Regions from separate parts of the Homo sapiens genome. Here regions 2 and 3 are each linked to region 1. The links are contacts of gene promoters, found by promoter capture Hi-C in blood cells and fetal thymus (Javierre and others, 2016). All regions are on one chromosome and are shown on one strand. The core of a region is centred on a gene start or on the middle of the fragment in contact, and the rest is flanking DNA. Distances in the headings are between cores, read along the strand shown. Region 1 holds the start of UMPS (uridine monophosphate synthetase). Region 2 holds the start of ZNF148 (zinc finger protein 148). Region 3 has its middle 6.0 kb from the start of OSBPL11.

Region 1 (4,941 bases), core at 1,649-4,148:
TCACTCTGTCACTCAGGCTGGACTGCAGTGGCATGATCACAGTTCACTGTGGCCTCAACCTCCCAGGCTCAAGTGATATTCCTGCCTCAGCCTCCCCAGTAGCTGGGACCACAAGTGTGTGCCATGATGTCTGGCTAATTTTTTTTATTTTTTGAAGAGACAGAGTCTCATCATGTTACCCAGGCTGGTCTCAAACTCCTGGGCTTCCCATCTCTGCCTCCCAAAGTGCTGGGATTGCAGGCATGAGCCACTGACCTGGCCCTAGAACATAACTTAAAATAAATGTGTATGTGTGTGTTTCAGTGTCTCTGTGTGTGTATAGTGTAGGTCAAACAATAATAAATAATTAAATAACAGTACCTCAGCCTATATTTTTTTGAAGGGGAGTGGTTCAGAGGAATCACCAATATAGTTATGGAATATTAGCAAAAGCCCTAATACAAATGATAATCAGAACCCCACAAGCTCAGTCTAAAATAGATATCAGAGTAGAATACAGAAGGGATTCAGTAAGCAATATAGAGCTAGGTCCATGAAAAGGCTCAGATTGAACTACTGCATGAAATTTTACATTCATGGAAACTCTTTAGGGTAAATACCTAAAATAGTAAGACTAAATATTGGTTAAAGCCAAGATCCTTTACCCAGCCTAAGTAAATGAAATGGAGAACACAAAATGAATTGGTACAATCTATGTTCCTCTGCTTTTTTTTTTGTTGTTGTTGTTGTTTGTTTGTTTGTTTGTTGTTGTTGAGACAGAGTCTCTGTTGCCCAGGCTGGAGTGTAGTGGCATGATCTTGGCTCACTGCAACCTCCACCCCCTCGGGGTTCAAGCAATTCTCCTGCCTCAGCCTCCCAAGTAGCTGGGACTATAGGCATGTGCTACTATGCCCGGCTAATTTTTGTATTTTTTGGTAGAGACGGGGTTTCATCATGTTGACTGGGCTGGTCTCGAACTCTCAACCTCAGGTGATCCACTTCCCTCGGCCTCCCAAAGTACTGGGATTACAGGCATGAGCCACCACACTCAGCTCTACCAACTTTTTATCAAGTGTTTTTGAGTGAACTATCTTATTGAATCTTCATAGTGATTTTTGGAGAAAGTTAATATTATTATCTTCATTCTTTTTTTTTTTTTTTGAGCGCAGTCTGGCTCTTTCGCCCAGCCTGGAGTGCAGTGATGCGATCTCGGCTCACTGCAAGCTTTGCCTCCCGGGTTCACACCATTCTCCTGCCTCAGCCTCCCGAGTAGCTGGGACTACAGGCGCCTACCACCATGCCCAGCTAATTTTTTTGTATTTTTAGTAGAGACGGGGTTTCACCATGTTAGCCAAGATGGTCTTGATCTCCTGACCTCGTGATCCGCCCGCCTCAGCCTCCCAAAGTGCTGGGATTACAGGCGTGAGCCACCGCGCCCGGCTTCTTCATTCTATTTTTGAGAAAATTGAGACTCATATAGCTCAAAATGCATTGCCAAAGATCACTCAGCCAGTAAGTAGAATGGGACTAAAATCCAAATGTTTTGGTTTGAAACTTCATGTTCTTTGTAGTGCACTATACAGCTATGCCTTATCTGTTCCTCTTTTTTAAAAAAGTATTTGTTATAGTTGACACATGATATCGTACACATTTATTGGGTACATAGTGCTATTTCAATACACACAATGTACAGTGATCAAATCAGAGTAATTCATATATTCCTCACCTTAAATATTTATCCTTTCTTTGTGTTGGGAACATTCAAACGCCCCTCTTCTAGCTATTTTAAAATATATAGTAAATTATTATTGACTACAGTCACCCTACAGTGCAATGGAACACTAGGACTTATTCCTCCTATCTAGCTGTAATTTGTGTCCTTTAACCACCCCCTACCCTTCCCAGCCTCTAGTGATTACTATTTTATTCTCTAGCTCCATGAGATCAACTTTTTTAGCTTCTGCATATGAGCGAGAACATTTGGTATTTATCTTCCTGTTCCTGGCTTGTTTCACTAACATAATGTCCTTCAGGTTCATCCACCTTGCTGCAAATGACAAGGTTTCATTCTTTATGTGAATTTAAGGGTTATTTTCCTTAAGCTAGAATAAAGTATTGCCTTATATACACAATGGAGAAGGGATTTATTTGTACAGATTATTTATTGATTATTTCTTTAAGGGATTTATTTGTAAAGACCAAATATGTTTGGATTTTCAGATTGTCTAGCAATATTATCCTCCTGGATAACCCTGATACCAATCAATTAACCGTCTTCTAACTCTCCTCCTTCCCTCCCTTACCTTTTCTACACCTATTACCTAAGCATTTGAGGTACGCCAAAGGAAATAAAAAAGTACTCCTCCAGGAAGCAGAGTACAGACAAAAGAGGTAATGAATACTGTAATGATCTAAGTGCTATATATTCCTATGTGCAAACTGCTATGGAACTGTCACGTACTAGATGCTATGAAGTTAATAAAAGAATTGAGTAAAGGTCCCTGTCTTTGATAACTTATATTCTATTTGGAGAAACATGGGGGGTAAATCTTGGCTAATAACTAGCAAATATAACATGTTAGGCCAAGGAGTAGAGATAATTAAGAGAACTAGTCGAGAAGGCATTGGCTATTAAAAAATGGACAGGATTTATGCAAACTCTCATGAAAGGTGGGACTTCATGATCCTACAGTCAATCTAGCTGTTCTGGGCTTTGAACCCCAGCGACCCCATCCAGAAGAAACCAGGAGAAGCACAAACTGGCGCTAGGTTCGCTACCATCCACCTGACCCTTGAGCCCGGGGAAACCCACGGGTGCAGCAAGCCGGGAAAGCTGCAGACGAGGCAGGCGGAAGAGGCGGGACTTCGCGGGTGACGTCATCGGGGCGCCGGAGGCCCGGGGCGCCTGGGAATTTGAAGCAAACAGGCAGCGCGCGACAATGGCGGTCGCTCGTGCAGCTTTGGGGCCATTGGTGACGGGTCTGTACGACGTGCAGGCTTTCAAGTTTGGGGACTTCGTGCTGAAGAGCGGGCTTTCCTCCCCCATCTACATCGATCTGCGGGGCATCGTGTCTCGACCGCGTCTTCTGAGTCAGGTGCTGGCCTAGGAAGGGAAAGGACAGGGCTTGGTGGCGGGAAGGAGGACAAGGAAATGGAAGAGGGTGACAGGAGTTGGGCCGTGAGTGAGAGCAAAAGAGCCAAGCAGGCAGACCGACCCTACTCTTGGTTTGGGGAGTAAGCATGAGAAGCACAGAGGCCAGGGGTTGGGCTCCTCGAGAGTCGTCTGTTCTTTCACCCACACGCTTAGACACGTGTTTTGCAAAAGTCGGGAAACCCAGTTTGGAACGCTTTCTGGCACTGAAGCACACTTGAATGAATTCTGTATATTTAACTCTTTAAGAAAATTAGACTTGCGGCCGGGCGTGGTGCCTCATGAGAGTAATACCAGCACTTTGGGATGCCTAAGTGGGCAGATCACCTGAGCCCCAGGAGTTCGAGACCAGCCTGGGCAACATGACGAGACCCCGTCTCTACAAAAAATTAGCTGGGTGTGGTGGCGCACGCCTGGGACGCTGAGGTGGGAGGATCACCTGAGCCTGGGAGGTCAAGGCTGCAATGAGCTGTCATTGCGCCACTGCACTCCAGCCTGGGCGACAAGTGAGACCCTGCCCTCAAAAAACAAACAAATAGACCGGGAAAACGTGGGTAGGCAGAGAATTCAGTAGCTGGGAAATTACTGGTGAGAAAAGGAAAATAGAACAACCAGAACTCTGTGATGTATACAAAATTTATCAGAGCCCAGAGAGACTTCAACCATACTCCCCTATGCAGCCCCGGGACAATTATTTAAAGGAATTTTGTCCCTGACTAGCTGCCTCTCCCATTATCTTAATGTACCTGGAATGTGTGATACAAAGAACAATGTATAGCTAATCAATCGCTTGTGTTATTATTTTATTTATTTATTTTTTAGATGGGATCTCTCTTACGTCACCCAGGCTGGAGTGCAGCTCTGTGATCATAGCTCACTGCAGCCTGGAACTCCTGGGCTTAAGAGATCTTCTTGCCTCGGGTGAGCACAGGGGCTCATGCCTGTAGTCCCAACTTTGGGAGGCTTTCTTTGGGAGGCTGAGGCGGGTGGATCACTTAAGGTCTGGAGTTCGAGACCAGCCTGGCCAACATGGTGAAACCCTGTCTCTACTGAAAATGCAAAAATTAGCTGGGCATGGTGGTGCACACCTGTAATCCCAGCTACTCAGGAGGCTGAGGCAGAAGAATCAGGAGGTTGCAGTTAGCCGAAATTGAGCCACTGCACTCCAGCCTGGGCAACAGAGGGAGACTGTCTCAGAAAAAAAAAAAAAAAAGAGATCCTCTTACCTCAACCTCTGAGTAGCTGGAACTACAGGCATGTGCCATCATGCCCACCAAATTAAAAATTTTTTTTTTTTGTAGAGAGGAGGTCTCACCATACTGCCCAGGCTCGTCTCAAACTCCTGGCCTCAAAAGATCCTCTTGCCTTGGCGGCTTCCCAAGTAGCTGGGACTACAAATGCCTGGTGCCACCCCCGGGCTACCTCCTGTTATTTCAATGCAAATTCTTGGTGAATATAGGAACTGCCCCTTCTTTTGCTTTAAAAATCCACTTGTAACTACTGTAATCGAAGCCTATAGTCAGGGCAACTACTCATATTAATTTTGCCTCAGCCTCTTCCTGTTAGGTCCACACTTGGAAGGGCTGTTTGGAAAGGGGAGTTGAATTTTGCACTGTGCGGCCAGAAGCAATAATTAAGACTAGAAGGTGGACATATTGGGAAAGCAGGTTTTTAGTCAATATAAGGAAAATTTTTGTACAAATTAGAGGTTTCTAATACAGTGCTTCTCAACTTTGAGTATATATGAATTACCTGGGAATTTTGTTAAAATGCAGAATCCATTTCTGTAGCTCTGAGACTAGACCTGAGGT
Region 2 (4,398 bases), core at 168-2,667, 640 kb after region 1:
GCAATCCAGGCTGAATAATACGGCACCAATTCTCCTGGACCAGATAAACTGGGCAGTGAAGAAAACCACCAAGTCAATTAATTTCCATTCCAGCGTTTGCCAGGATAGTATTTACCCAACCTCGGGTAAGTGTTAATACTTCAAATTTTCTAAAATCGAAGCTCCATAGCCTAAGGAATCCCCACAGGCCAGACCCTTTCTCAAGGTCTGCTTCAGAGGTTCTCATACTCATTGGTGCACGTCTAAAATGTCACAGACCAAACTACAGACTAAAATCTAATTCTCAGTGACCCCAACCACGGCCCAGACCCACACTTACCAGATGTCATCTACTGAACAGCCCACACAGGTTCGGAACTAGGCCATCCCGGCCCATCTGGAATAACTCTTCAGTACTTAGGCCAATATTTATTAATTATACTACATCTGTCTATTCTATTATGCATTCCCTGCATCTTCTCTACTATTTAGCACTCCCTCTTGCTTCAAACGCGATCCTTTCTATTCACGGGAACTCCTATCTCCCTTCTTTCCTTCCCTGAGAAACGCTTCAGTTCTTTCCATAATGAAATACCTAACGTATCTGCACAATGAACACCCCCCAGAATCCTCAAGACTCCTCCACAGCCACCTCCCCGCATTCCTCCACCTCTCCGGCATCTTTCCTCCGGCCCCTCGCCCTGTTCGCACTCCCACTACGTTTCCTGCAAGCATTCCCTTTTCTCCAACCCCTGCCCTTCCCTTCTCCCAAAGAGCACACTCCGGCAGCAACAGTGACTGAGGCCTGCGGTGCATAAAGCACTGCACCAGGCACGGTGGACAGAGCCCTGGTGTCTCCCTAGCCTTTTCACACCCACACCCAGCACCCTCCGGCCTCCCCGTGCAAACATCCCACCTCCTCCCCTACCTCTGACACCCGCCTCCAGCCTCGGAGGCCGCCTTCTCGCCTCCGCCACCCCCGTCATTATCCCTCCTCAACCCCCCAACCCACCCTCCGCGCCCTGCTTCCTCACGTCCCCCAGCCAGCCCCAGCGTTTCCCTCGGCCTCGGCTGGCCCCCTGGCCACCCCCAGCCTCGCCACGGCTCGCTCCCCCCGGGGTCAGGCCGTTACCGCCGCGCGCTCCCCCCGCGCGCCGCCCCCTCCCCCTCCCCCGCCCTCCCCCGGGCCCGGGCCTGCCAGGCCGAGCGCTTTACCGCGGGCGGGCGCCGAGTCGCGCGGTCACCGACTGCAGGCGGCGGCAGCTCCAACCTTTCTAGGGGCCTTGAGAGGAGGGGAAGGGGGGAGGGGGGAGAACTTTTGCTGTGGCAGCTTCGGCAACAGCTCCCACCCCTGCGCCTTTCTCCTCTTCCTCCCCCTCCTCCTCCTCCTCCTCTTCCTCCTTCTCTTCCTCCTCCCAGAGCAGTAGAGACGCAGACATGCCGCAGCTAGAGCGCCGCCGCGGTCGCCGCCACTGCCGGCCCGGTGCATTGTGGGAAGCCCCGCACACGGGAAGCGCTCCGCGGCGCCCGCCCTCGTCTGGCGCAGAGACCTGGCTGGAAAGACACAGCGTGGCTTCGATTCCGGCGCCTGCGTGTCACCAGCCCAGGGTGGCCGTGGAAGCTGGACCCGAGCCGCAGGCCCCCCAGGCTGGGCCTGGGAGGAAAGCGGTTTGAAAAAGATCGGAACTGAGGAACTCTCTTAGAGCGGGGGACTCCCTGCTCCTACAGCCTTAACCAATGCCCAGCGCTTGGAAAGTGGAGGACTCGGGGATTCGGGAGCGTTTCAGGCCTGGGGAAATGGAAGGGTCGGGGACCTAGGTGAAAGGTTATTTGCCAGAAATGTCTTGGCTTTTTCATTTATTCTGTCTTACCTAGCCCTTCGCCGCCACCTCCAGTCGTTGGCCTCTTACCACCTTCAAATGCCACCTTTTCCGGAAGATGTAGCCCTGCGCCCTTGAAACTGGCAAACCCTATTAGTGTCTGCAAGCTGAGATGCAGGGTGTGGGCATAGACACAGATCAAGAGATCCGGCCCTGGACCCTCTTGGGCAGAACCTTGCCCTTCTCATTTCACCTGAAGCCCAAACTTTGTATGGCAAAGACTTGGTAATGATCTCTATAGAGCTAGGATTACACAGTTGTCTCATCCTTTGGGGGCCCTTTAGCCAAACTGTGACCTCCTTAATGGTGCCTTCGTCAGCTAACATTAGGCGCCCTGAGGTGCTTCTGCATACTGCCATCGTTTACAATTACTCATCTTTGTGTACACACCCTAGCACAAGGTCAGCCATATAACATAAAAGATGCTCAGTGAATGTTGAGTAATTGTGAGCATCTGGAACTTGCCGTGGGATAAAACGCGTTCATTGGGATTTCTTCATAATAATATGAAGATTCCATTTAGCGCCTCTCTGCAATACTTAAACGTAACCTTTGAGGGGAGAGGGAAAAGAAAAGGCATGAAAATATCTATAGAGCCATTTCTGGTGTTCTCCTTCCCTTTTCCACACCCGCCTTCCCACCCCTTGCCAACTAAATGTTCATTTGAATAGTGCTTTTTGGCAAAATTCCAAACTCCTGCATTATGCACTTGTGATGACACTGAATTAGATTAGTGTCTGCAAGGTTAATGTTCCCTCAGGCATTAACCTTAGTAAATCGTGATGCCTGTTTAGAAATAGCTAAGGCCCAGAGGTTCAGCTTAATTTAGACACAGGTAACTAAGAGCAAGAGTAAACCACAGCTCCACAATCAACTCTCTCTGTGTGCTTTCTCCATTAAAAAATATAAATTTTAATAAGATGACCGCACATATTCTGAATGTTAATTGCAACAAAACAATGACACAAGTTAGAGCCAAGGGACAGTTATCTGGAGGACAGCCTTCTGGCAACTTCTAGCACCCGCAGTGGCATCAAATTCAGACGTCATAATGAAAAACACCTCTGGCAGCAAGAAAGCCGACTCTCAGTATTAGGCAGTGGGAAAACTAATAACTGAAAAGGGCTCAAGGCCTGGAGGTTACATCCAATGGGCTAGGATTGATTGGTTTGCTATTAGGAATAGATCTAGTTCTCTGCTCAGCAGCCTAACAAGCGATAGAGAAACAGCTGTCTAAAATGGGCAGAACGAAGAGCACTACAGGGATAGTAACAGCAAAAGCGATGGTGAGGAGCAAGCTTAGGTCCTTTATAAGTTAAACTGGAAAAACTTCTCAGCTTCAGGTTGGCTCTCCATGCTCCTCTTGCTCACTTCCCTAAACACCACCCGTAGGTACTCAGCCTACTTACTTTTCCTTTTTTTTTTTTTTAACTTTTTATTTTGAAATAATTATAGACTCACAAGAAGTTGCAAAAATAGTCCAGAGTCCCATGCTTTCCCCAATGGTGACATCTTACAAAGCTCTAGTAAGACATCAAAATCAGTGTCAACCTAAATAACAGAGAGGCTTTCTAAAAGAAAATAATGTTTATTTGGGAATAGAGCATTGCAATGAAAATATACACATCACAGTTAACCGCATATTCAGGGATGTAAAGGAAGACAAAGGTGTTTAAAGGAAAAAATGGAAAGGATTACATAATTGTTTTGAAATAATTATCCTTGACTACAAAGATCAATAACAAGGGTGACGCCAGTCCGAGGTTGGACAGGCATTTGCTGGGGAGATGTCCTTGCAGAAGTATTTTTTTATGTAAGGTTGTGATGGCCTTTGTGCAAGGTTGTGGGTTTTGCAGTCTTTTTTTGATAGTTTTTGTTATCAGGTATACAAATGTAAGAACCCTCTCTTCGTAGGCAGCCTTCCCTAGCTCTGTTTGTCAGGGTTTCTTAACATTAGTAACTCCATTTTGATTGTGACAACTTTCACACCAGGAAATCGACAACAGTACATTACTGTTTACTATAGACTTCAGAACTTATTACTTGCCATTTTCTTAACCTGTGTTCTGTTTTGTGTGTGTGTGTGTGTGTGTGTGTGTGTGTGTGTGGTTCAATGCAACTTTACCTCACTTACAGATCCTTGTAACCACTCCTATAATGAAGACATAGAACTGTTCCATCACCACAAAAGAACTCCCTCATACTACCTTTTGGTATTCACAAATCCCCTTCCGCACTGCAACCGCTCACCCAACTCCATGCCTGTCCTCTAGTAACCACTAAACTATTCTCCATCTCTATACTTTCATCATTTCAAAAATGTTATCTAAGTGGAATCATACAGCATGTAAACTTTTGAGATTGATGTTTTAACCTAAACATAAAGGTCCACAGCTCAAGCAAATCTAAAGGGCACAGACACTTCCAGCTGATGGTTTCCAAGGGGGAATGTAATATTTAGGAAATCAAGAGAAGTCAGGAATCTGAGTTTTGGGGTGAAACCTCACAAATATTAAATGTTGACAACTCATTCTGTTTT
Region 3 (4,726 bases), core at 247-2,746, 870 kb after region 1:
GGGCGGGTCACCTGAGGTCGCGAGTTCAAGACCAGCCTGACCAACATGGTGAAACCCTGTCTCTACTAAAAATACAAAATTATCCAGGTGTGGTGGCTCATGCCTGTAATCCCAGCTACTCGGGAGGCTGAGGCAGGAGAATCGCTTGGACCCGGGAGAGGCCAAGGAGGGCGGATCATTTGAGCTCAGGAGTTTGAGACCACACTGGGCAACTGGCAAAACTCGTCTCTAGTAAAAAAACAAAAATGAGCTGAGTGTGGTGGCACATGCCTGCAGTCCCAGCTACTTGGGAGGCTGAGGTGGGAGGACTGCTTGAGCCCGGGAGGTTGAGGCTGCAGTGAACTGAGATCACACCAGTGTATTTCAGTCTGGATGACAGAACAAGACTCTGTCTCAAAAAAAAAAAAAAAAATACAGTCTAGAGTACTCAGGTTTGAGTGTCAGCACATTTGGTGTAAGAAACTCAGCAAGATAAACTAAATTATTATCAGAAGGTTATAATGCTTGTGGAGTCATGGCCATGGGAGTTGGTAGGATAGATGTTTTGTTTTGCTTTGTTTTAAAGCCAAAACTTTTTACCAAAATGTTTTACAATAGGATCTGAGTTTGACTGTTCCATTCAGCATCCAAAGAGAGAGGAGGACATATTGTTTGAATAAGGAAGGTAAAGAAATGTACTTTTTTGAAAGCCATCAAAGAAGGATGTGTACTTCATCTCTGTGCCTTCCCTACCAGTCTAGCTGGGTAAGAGATGAGGGTGCCCTGCCCATGGAGAGAAGCTGCGTATGCATAGTGGTCAAGATCATGGTCTCTTCTATCAGACTGACACGCAGATTCCACTCCCTGTGACCTTAGGCAAGTTACCTAACCTCTTTGTGCCTGTTTCATCACCTATAAAATAGGAGTAACTGTGTTACTCCCCAAATTTCTACAATGAAGGCCTAACTTCTATGCAATGGTATTTGGAGATAGGGCCTTTGGGAGACACTTACGTTTTGATGAGGTCCTAATGATTGGATTAGTGCCCTTGTAAGAAGAGACACCAGAAAGCTAGCATGTACCATGCCCCAGCCCTCACCACCCCTGCCATGTGAGGGCACTTGGAGAAGACAGCTACCTGCAACCTAGGAAAAGAGCCGCCATCAGAAACTGACCATGCTGGTATCTTGACCTTGGACTATCAGCCGCCAGAACTGTGAAAAAATAAATTGCTGTTGTTTAAGCCACCTAGTCTATGGTATTTTGCTATGGCAGCCAAGCCAGTCTCTCTCTTTGAGGGGTTGTCAGCATTAAATGAAACGACTCATGTCATTTAAGGCACTTAGACTCTGGTCTGACGCAGGATGAGCTAAGTGTTCAGCAACTGTTAGCCATTGTTTAGAAGGGTAGGGCTACCTGCTAAGTAAAACGAATGTTGGTGTTTGGTGAGGGCACCCTTCTGCTAGGGACATCTCTGAAGACACATCAAACAACATATTTCTGAAGACATTCAACATATTTCTGTGGGAGAATGCCAGCTTTGTCTCCCAAATGCAATGGAGTTTTCAAGTTAGGAATTCTAATCAAAAGAGACCCATCAGAGTATGTACAATAAATGTAGAATTCTAAGAACATTACCTGAAATCACCCAGTTTGTGGGTGTCAGTGTGAAAATGTAGATACCTAAGGCCATGTCTGCTTCAGTGTCATCTCCTCCTAGAGACCTTCCCTGACCACTCTATACAGAGTAGCAGTTCCTACCCATTACACTCTATCCCTTTACTGTGCTTTAGTTTTCTTCATAGCACTTGACATTTTTTTTTTTTTTTTTTTTTTTTTTTTCTGAGAGGGAGTCTCCTCTGTTGCCCAGGCTGGAGTGTGATGGCATGATCTTGCCTCACTGCAACCTCTGCCTCCTGGGTTCAAGCCATTCTCCTGCCTCAGCCTCCCAAGTAGCTGGGATTACAGGCACCCGCCACCATGCCCGGCTAATTTTTGTATTTTTAGTAGAGGCGAGGTTTTGCCATGCTGGCCAGGCTGGTCTCGAACTCCTGACCTCAGGTGATCCACCCGCCTTGGCTTCCCAAAGGGCTGGGATTACAGGCCTGAGCCACTGCGCCTGGCCAACATTATATGCTTTGTTATGCATTGTCTGTCTCCTTACTAGAATGTAAGCTCTGTGAAGAAAGACTTGGTTCTTTTTTTTCCCCACTACAGTGTCCCCAATACTTGACCATTGCTTGACACATTTGTTGAATGAGTGGATGAATTTATTACAGTGGTTAAGAACATGAACTTTGGCACAAGCCTTCAAATCCTGGCTCTGCCACTTAGTGCACGTGATCCTGGGGAGGTTACTTGCCTTGGTAAGCCTCAGTTTTTTCATCTGTAAAATGGAAAAATAGGATGAAATAAACGTGTAGAAGGCCAGGCATGATGGCTCACACCTGTAATCCCAGCACTTTGGGAGGCCAAGGCAGGTAATTGTTTGAGCCTAGAAATTCAAGATCAGACTTGACAACATGGTGAAACCCCATCTCTACAAAATAATACAAAAATTATGGGGCCAGGAGTGGTGGCTCACACCTGTAATCCCAGCACTTTGAGAGGCCGAGAAGGGAGGATCACTTGAAGTCAGGAGTTTGAGACCAGCCTGGCCAACATGGTGAAACTCCATCTCTACTACAAATACAAAAACTAGCCGGGCATGGTGGTATGCACCTGTAGTCCCAGCTACTCGGGAGGCTGAGGCATGAGAATTGCTTCAACCCAGGAGAAGGAGGTTGCAGTGAGCTGAGATCGCACCACTGCACTCCAGCCTGGGTGACAGAGCGAAACTCCATCTCAAAAAAAAAAAAAAAAATTAGCTGGGTGAGGTGGCATGTGCCTGTAGTCCCAGCTACTAGGTAAGCTGAGGAGGGAGGATTGCTTGAGTCAGAGGTTGCAGTGAGCCAAGACTGTGCCATTGCACTTTAGCTAACCTGGGTGACAGAGCGAGACCCTGTCTCAAAAAAAAAAAAAAAAAAAAAAAAAAAAAAAAAAAAAAGAGTGCCTGATGTCTAGTGCACTAGAACAAATGCTGCCTGTTTTTATTTTCTCTCTCTAACCCTGACATGCAAGAAAGGGAAGTATGATTAGTTTCCTTGAAGCACAAGAACCCGCAGCTGGAATGAATGGGAGGATAGGCCACAGAGAAACTCGGGGCAGGGTAGCAGGGAGCAGGGGTGCGGGAAACAGTGCTAATCCCATGAGAGGAGGGCAACACAGGGAGGAATGCAGCCAGGAAAAAAGTTCCCACTGAGAATAAGGTTGTGAACCCAGAATTTCTTAAAAAAAGAAAACGAGACCGGGCGTTGCGGTTCACACCTGTAATCCCAGCACTTTGGGAGGCCAAGGTGAGTGGATCACCTGAGGTCCAGAGTTCGAGACCAGCCTGACGAACATGGGGAAACCCCCGTCTCTACTAAAAATACAAAATTAGCCAGGCGTGGTGGCGCATGCCTGTAATCCCAGCCACTCAGGAGGCTGGGGCAGAAGAATCGCTTGAACCCAGGAGGCGGAGGTTGCAGTGAGCCAAGATTGCACCATTGCATTTCAGCCTGGGCAACAAGAGCAAAACTCCGTCTCAAAAGAAAAAAAAAAAAAAAAAGAAAGAAAAGGAAGAAAGACATTCTGAGAAGACAAAGTGTTCACATTGATAATAGGTTTTACTACTTTGCTGAAACAGAGTTTCAATTAATCAAGAGATCCTCTACCTCCCACCACACTCGCCTGCAGTTTAGGCAGAAATCCTTTTGTGATTTCCCACTCTGATGGAGTGATTCAGCTAAAGGGCTCCAAGAGAGCAGCATTTCTCTTCAAACACTCCCCTGCCAAGCTCAAAGCTTGTAGTGGGAGTGAAAGAAATAGACACAGTTGGTGTTTTTATTTGAGAGGAGGAATGAAGGATGGGAAAGGAGAAAAAGAGTCTATTTTATTCCGATTTTGATAAAATGAAACTTCCCTCCCATTGTTTGCTTCTCTCCACAACTTTCCCTTGAATCCCTATTGAACTTAAAAGTATTTCACTGGAGCCTTTAAAACTGTATTATAAAATGAGAACGCATTTATTTTAAAGCTATGTGTCCTTTTTGTCCGTTTTTAGACTCATTTGGCTAGTGCAGGTAGTATTTTGCTCACAGTTTCAATAAAATGCACAGATTTAACTGCAGTCACGTGACCTTTCCATCGTCAAGTGGGGAATGCCAGGGGTTGCCATGGGAAAGGAGAGAGAAGGCAACTAATGCTTACTAGCATGAAATGTCAGGGTTATGAATTCCGGGGAGCGCTCATGTAGATCAGCTTTTGAGATGGTATGTGAGTGTATTGTTTCCATGAAATGACTCATTTGACGGAGAACGTTGATTAATGTGAGAGGGCATGTGCCAATATTTCTTTTGAAAAAACTGCATCCCTTTACCAAAAGAAAAAAAAGGCAAACACTAGGGGAGCACTTTTCAATATGTACTCCACACAATATTGTGGGGTATTAGTAGGTGTTACTTGATTTAAAATTTTTCTTGCTGTGATTTCATACATTTGAAAAACACTAATTTTATTTTAAGTGAGACTGGTTCCTTTATTGCAGAATTTCTTGGGGAATTTACTGTGCTAATGTGCATCATGAATCTTCATAAAGGAGATAGAAGGATGTGCCCAGAAAGCCCCTGGCAGGGAAGGAACTGCACCTTGGAAGGCTCTATGCAGC

The links. Contacts are between HindIII fragments. The CHiCAGO score rates a contact against its expected background, and 5 or more counts as called.
Region 2: the fragment with the promoter of ZNF148 here is called in contact with the fragment with the promoter of UMPS in region 1 in 1 of 17 cell types (activated CD4 T cells); the score reaches 6.9 in activated CD4 T cells.
Region 3: a fragment that was not itself captured here is called in contact with the fragment with the promoter of UMPS in region 1 in 1 of 17 cell types (fetal thymus); the score reaches 5.2 in fetal thymus.

The regions. Positions count from the first base shown.
Region 1 is chr3:124,727,554-124,732,494 of GRCh38, forward strand. It overlaps UMPS (uridine monophosphate synthetase), which reads left to right and starts at 2,899. Exons shown (of 6, transcript NM_000373.4): 1 at 2,899-3,074. The coding sequence starts at 2,919. It overlaps MIR544B (microRNA 544b), which reads left to right and starts at 4,886; the gene lies at 4,886-4,941. RefSeq lists enhancers at 2,557-3,156, 2,569-2,978. The HindIII fragment of the contact is 5,140 bases long and covers 1,202-4,941 here.
Region 2 is chr3:125,373,908-125,378,305 of GRCh38, forward strand. ZNF148 (zinc finger protein 148) reads right to left here and starts at 1,418. Exons shown (of 9, transcript NM_021964.3): 1 at 1,195-1,418. LOC105374080 (a long non-coding RNA gene) reads left to right here and starts at 1,519. Exons shown (of 3, transcript XR_924427.3): 1 at 1,519-3,145. RefSeq lists a silencer at 1,153-1,202 and enhancers at 1,313-1,582, 1,693-1,742. The HindIII fragment of the contact is 7,036 bases long and covers 1-3,155 here.
Region 3 is chr3:125,599,107-125,603,832 of GRCh38, forward strand. No RefSeq gene overlaps it. Among named protein-coding and RNA genes, the nearest start is that of OSBPL11, 6.0 kb to the left of the region's middle. The HindIII fragment of the contact is 4,730 bases long and covers 1-3,861 here.